2 separate regions of the Homo sapiens genome follow, and region 1 is linked to region 2. Evidence: promoter capture Hi-C in human tissues and cell types (Jung and others, 2019). All regions are on one chromosome and are shown on one strand. The core of a region is centred on a gene start or on the middle of the fragment in contact, and the rest is flanking DNA. Distances in the headings are between cores, read along the strand shown. Region 1 overlaps OTUD7B (OTU deubiquitinase 7B). Region 2 holds the start of OTUD7B (OTU deubiquitinase 7B).

Region 1 (3,169 bases), core at 461-2,960, 34 kb after region 2:
TTCACTCAACAAATATTTATTGAGGGCCAGTGTGCCTAGCACTGTGCCAAGTGATACGTGCAGGGGATACATTAGTGAAGGAGACATACAAGTTTCCTGCTTTCAAGAAACATATATTAGAGGAGATGGCTAGACAGCAACTAATTAAAATAATTTGAGAGTATTCAAGTGCCAGTAAGGAAATACACAAAGGTGCCATGTTAGAGACTATTGCAGGTGGGGAGTTCTTTAGGGTGGTAGCCTGTTGCTTCCTTCTTTAGTTTGGGTAAGCAAACTCATGGTAGAAAAGCAGTACTCAGGAAAAGTACAGGAAAAGCATTTTTCAGAGTGGTATTACAGGTTCCTGGTTAATGTAGATGTTGAGATGTTAATGAAGAGTTAGGAAATAAAATGTTACTCTTCATAATTTTAAAGTGCTGTATTTTAAAATTCAACTGAAATGAATGAGCTAGGATAGTTTCCCCATTTGGTTAGGAAGCTGCTGACATGGGACTGTGATTATCCTGTTCCAGTGTAATTTGAGCCTTATGTATTTATTTATTCCTCAGGTGGAGGCCTGAATTTTGATCTATGTTCTACCTACATCCAGCTGGCTGAAAGTACTTGAGGATCACATGACCCTGGACATGGATGCTGTTCTGTCAGATTTTGTCCGTTCCACAGGAGCAGAGCCAGGGCTAGCGCGAGATCTCCTAGAAGGTGAGGAGTTGTAGGGGAGAATGAGAAAAGAGAAAGTAAAATGTGGTATTTATCATTAGGATGATTTGGACCATTTAAGGTGATCAGGAAGATACTTTGTGTAGGTTAGGCCCTATAGTTAATTCTAATGATATACTTTGTGTATAACCCGTCATAATTAGAAATTTTAAAATCCCTTTTTCACCTTGAACTTACTGGGGTAGTTTTCTCCATTGTCAGTTTATGCTCAGGCAATGCAAGTGAAATTTTATATTAGTCCATTACAAACATAATTTTATTTTATTTTATTTTATTTATTTATTTTTGAGACAGAGTCTCGCTCTGTTGCCCAGGCTGGAGAGCAGTGGCATGATCTTGGCTCACTGCAGTCTCTGCCTCCCAGGTCCAGTCAATTCTCCTGCCTCAGACTCCTGAGTAGCTGGGATTACAGGTGCCTGCCACCACACCTGGCTAATTTTTGTATTTTTTAGTAGAGATTAAGTTTCACCTGTTGGCCAGGCTGGTCTTGAACTCCTTACCTCAGGTAATCTGCCTGCCTCGGCCTCCCAAAGTGCTGGGATTACAGGCATGAGCCACTGTGCCCGGCCTAAAAGCATAATTTTAGATCTGTAAGACTTCCTCTTTATATAGAAGTGACTTTAGGGTTTTCATGATGGGATCATCCATGGTTTTGTTCTTTCCTTACATAACATACATTATGGGTAATTCTATGTTGAGTGAATCAATTTAATGTTTTCATTTTGCTGCTTTTGTTTACTTATATCTTTATACACATAAGTTTGAATGTTCTAGTATTTTTTTTTTTTTTTTTTTGTAGACGGAGTTTTGCTGTTGTTGCCCAGGCTAGAGTGCAATGGTGCGATCTCGGGTCACTGCAACCTCCTCCTCCCGGGTTCATGCAATTCTCCTGCCTCAGCCTCCGGAGTAGCTGGGATTACAGGCATGCACCACCACACTCAGCTAATTTTGTATTTTTAGTAGAGATGGGGTTTCTCCATTTTGGTCAGGCTGGTCTCGAACTCCCGACCTCAGGTGATCCGCCTGCCTCGGCCTCTCCCAAAGTGCTGGGATTTCAGGCATGAGCCACCATGCCTGGCTGAATGTTCTAGATTTTAAGGTCCTGAAGGGTTAGAATCATGTCCCTAGGATTCTGTTTAGAGTCACAAATAATAGATGAAAATATGTAATGACACAAACAGGCAGGCCTATGGGGAAGGGGCAAGTTCTTAGCATACATAGGTAATATTTTAAATTGCCAGCCCTTAGCAAGGTGTGACAATTAGACATTTGCTTGGCTACCCGTGAGGAGAGCATGAGTTTGGAAACAGAAGATCAGGGTTTAAATTCCAGTTTAGTAATTTAGTACAACTTTGTCCTTAATTTGCATTTCTTTTTTTTTCTTTTTGAGACAGAGTCTCACTCTGTCGCCCAGGCTGGAGTGCAGTGGCGCGATGTTGGCTCACCACAACCTCCGCCTCCCAGATTCAAGCGTTTCTCCTGCCTCAGCCTCCCCAGTAGCTGGGACTACAGACGCGCGCCACCATGCCCGGCTAATTTGTGTATTTTTAGTAGAGATGGGGTTTCACAATGCTGGCCAGGCTGGTTTCAAACTCCTGACTCGTGATCTACCCACCTCAGCCTCCCAAAGTGCTGGCAGGCATGAGCCACCCTGCCCAGCCTAATTTGCATTTTTAGTTTCTTCTCCTACTACTTTTCCCTATACTTCCTATGCAGCCAGGCCTGACTTGTCACCTCTTGGTGATCATGTTAGGTTACTTCCTCAGTCTGGAGCATTTCTTTCCTCTATTCTCCTCATCCTTCAAGATTCAGCTCAAATGTTTCCTCTTTCATAAAATCCTTAACCTTTCTGCATTCCTCTTATAACATGTGTTGAACACTTATGAGTGTTCAATATGTGCAACGTACTTGAGATATGTTATTTTATTCTCACAACCACCATACAATAAAGTTTTATTATCCTGGAGTTAATAATTTTAAAACCTGAGGCTCAGTGAGGTTTAAGTAGGATTTGAATCTAGGCAATCTGGTTTCAGAGTATGGCTGTAAGCAATTATGTTACAAATTATTGCTAGCATGCTCACATGTGTGCACACACACATACACTCATGCTGTGAAAGAAACATTGAGGGTGCTGTGAGAGTGAAGAAAGAACCCTAACTTAGATCTAGAGTGCAGGAAGGCCTTTTCCGAGGAGTGATTTTTAAGCTGAGCCCTGAAGGACAAGTAGGAGCAGCAAGACAAAGGGATGTAGAAGAGAGTGTTTATGCAGAATAAACAGTTTATGCAAGGGCCCTAAGGTGCAAGAGAGTTTGGCACATTGGAGAAACTATTAATAATGAGGTAGTAAGAATGGTGCAAAAGTGGTAGGAAGCTGGTGAGATAGGCAGGAAGCAGAAAATAGGGGCTCTAGCCAGGTGTGGTGGCATTCACTGTAATCCCAGCTACCTGG
Region 2 (2,967 bases), core at 264-2,763:
CCCTTCCAGTTCAGTTCAGTTAGAGTTCAGTTAGAGTCAATTTAGGTGACCAAATCTCATCCTGCTCTCCTCCTTAAATTTACCACTAAACGGTAGCTAAAATTTGTGGTCCCTTATACGCTTGAAGCCCACGCCAAATGACTTTACTTGTCAACCTCTATTGTATGTCTTGGATATGCCCCCATGCAAGGCACTCTGACTTGTTTGGCCTTAGCATGTGTGGACAGCCTTGGGCCCAGCCCTAAATTTTCGATTGTAAACCCAGGTGTATCCCTAAGAGATATAGCTGTCTAGGAAGTTTCCCTGTTTCAGGTGTCAGTTTCCTATTCTGAGCTAGACAATTCTAAAATGCCTATGCCCCACGCCTCCCCTTTAGAAACTGAGGAAGAAGTGAGGGGAAAGAAAAGTTGACTAGAGTATTTGTTTTTACATAGGCATAATGGGCACAATTAGGCAATACATTATTTTGAATATGCAGACCAGGTGCTATAATGTTAGGAATCTGAATTAAAATTTCAAATGTCTTTTGTTAGAGTATAGCCGGGGTTGGCATCGTTTTGTGTTTGTCATAAAGAGGTATTTACTAAATGGCCTTTCTTTCTTGAAACAGTCCACACAGGCCTAATACTTATTCATTCATTCAACAAATATGGAAGGTCTACTATGTGACAAGGATGGCTTATTATGTTCTCATAGCCATAGCTCATTGTCACTCAGGTAGGACACATACAAGTTCTGCTACATATAATATAGTTTTATGTATTTTACTAAATTGTAAAACCTTTGATGTCTGGGATTATGTCTTGTTAATTTTTGTATCCCCCTGTATCACTGAGAGCAGTGATACACATCACAGGGATACAATACATATTTGAATTATGCCATAATGTTTTAAAAGACATAACAAACGCACTAGAAGACATAACAAACGCACTATGTAAGTTTTTTTTACTGTTAGCAGTCTAAAGCAGATGTATCAACAGGGTATCACTGTTATGCAAGTAAATAAATATTAAGTGTTTACAGAGAAGGATATGTTCACTTCAAGAGTGAAGGAACAAGAGAAATATATAATTGGGTGGAGACTGGTGTGGAAGAAGCTAATCTTCCTCCGGTCACTCCAGAATGATTGTGTAGAGTTACTAGAATGTCAGTCTTTTCATTCTGAAGTATTTTCATCTCTCTCACCTTTCTACAACTACTCCACCCCTTTCAGCTCCTTCCCAACGGCTGTAGCCAACTGATTCTACCCCAGAGTCCTAAGAGTCCACCCTGTACTCCTCCAACTCCTGTTCAAGAATGCTCCAGACCAGGAGCTTTAGGGACTCGGGTCGGGAAAACACGGGGTCACGCGCGGGGCAAGCGCCAAACTGGCCGCAGCCTGGGGAGCGGCGCTAAAGGCGGGGCTGCGACGGGGCGGAGCGGGAGGAGGCCCGGGGGCGGCCTGGGTGTCACCACCAACCCGCTCCGGCCGGAAACTGGCGCCTGTTTCCGGCCGGACAGCAGAAAGCCACCGATCCTGAACCAGCCGCCGGAGCCGGAGTGGCGACCGGGTGCGGAGTGGGCAAAAAGCCACTGGGGGAGGCCAGTCCCGATCAGTCCTTTCTGGCTCCAGCTCCAGATCCCGTGCGGAGCAACAGCTGCGGTCGCAGTCTCCACCACCGCCTCCACCTCCATCGCCGTCGGGGGAGGGGCCGGCCGGACCCCGGGGTCACTGCCGAGGAATGAAGAGAGGCGGCCGGGCCCCGCGCTCCGCCCCGGCCTAGGGCCTTGCCCCGGGAGCCCGCGAGGGTAACGGAGCCCCCCGTCCTGACACCGTCCCCCGTCTGCTCCCGCCCCTCCCGGCTTCTCAGACTCGCAAACTCTGCTCCTCAGATCGCCACTGTCCCCTTTCTCCTTTCTGAATCTGTTTCACCCGAAGCCATCTCCCCTCGGCACTCCTTTCTCGCCCTGACTGCTCCTTGCTTCGTCCCGATCTTTCCTCCTCCCTTTCACCTGCGTCCTGCGTTCCTACCCCGCGCTCTCCAGCTCCCGGCCTCCCTTCCTGAGCTGTGCTGGCCAGTTTGGACGGTCCCCCCTTGTCAGCTAGACTTTCGGGAGGGATGGTGGAGTTTTAAGGTGATTAAGATGCAGTGTATTATCCCCACAGTAGGATAAAGTTCATTTAAAATCTCAATATAATACTAAAATGAAAAGCAAATAAGCTTATTCTTCCTATTGATAGCCAAACTAAGGTGCATACAGTAATGGAGGAAAGGCGAGAAAAAGGTGTGTGTGTGTGTTTGTGTGTGTGTGTGAGAGAGGGAGAGAGACGGAGGTTGACGGATTCTAGGGCAGTCTTAAGAACTTTAGAAAAAAGAAAAGTTGCCATGAGCCGATGGAAACTTTAGAAGCTGATGATGAGTAAGCCGGGGGCTGCGTGATCTCACTCTTCTCATAATTACTAGGTTAACGGTGTGGCTCCGGTCGGGATGGAATGGGATTTGTTTACTGGGCCGGCGTATTTTTAGCTTGTCGGCTCACAAGGACCAGCGCTCAGAGTCTCTTTCTCCCCGCTCGTGGTAGTCTTTCTTGTCTAACCTAGGTGGCTTCTCTGGGCACAATAAAGATGTAAAAATTTGAAATTAGAAACTGACTGGTGGAATTTTATGGAAGAAGTTCCCCACAAACTTTTCAGGCAGCTTTTCACGAATGCAAAGCCTAGAATTAGCAGGACGTTGACTTTTATTTTCCTTATCTTTTTATACGTACTACGTAACGCTTTGCTTAGAAATTCACATGCTGCTAATTTTTCAGTCTTTGGCCTCTAGTACTGTATATTTAGGAGATTTTTGAGGAGGCTGGATCCCTTTGTCTTTCAGAATCTATTTCAAAGGTGGAAAAGGACAGAGTAGAGAAAGAGGTGGCGGTAAGACTGGCTCCAAAGAGTTGCTAACCCCTAAATATTTAAAAAAGTTTCTATGCTAT

Evidence for each region. Contacts are between HindIII fragments. The study calls those that stand out against the background at their distance.
Region 1: a contact is called between a fragment that was not itself captured here and the fragment with the promoter of OTUD7B in region 2, in 2 of the 25 tissues and cell types used here (IMR-90 fibroblasts and liver).

The regions. Positions count from the first base shown.
Region 1 is chr1:149,974,956-149,978,124 of GRCh38, reverse strand. OTUD7B (OTU deubiquitinase 7B) reads left to right here. Exons shown (of 12, transcript NM_020205.4): 2 at 549-699. The coding sequence starts at 615. Among named protein-coding and RNA genes, the nearest start is that of OTUD7B, 34 kb to the left of the region's middle. The HindIII fragment of the contact is 6,801 bases long and covers 1-3,169 here.
Region 2 is chr1:150,009,272-150,012,238 of GRCh38, reverse strand. It overlaps OTUD7B (OTU deubiquitinase 7B), which reads left to right and starts at 1,513. Exons shown (of 12, transcript NM_020205.4): 1 at 1,513-1,791. RefSeq lists silencers at 1,352-1,401, 1,662-1,951 and enhancers at 2,472-2,521, 1,886-2,768. The HindIII fragment of the contact is 20,587 bases long and covers 1-2,967 here.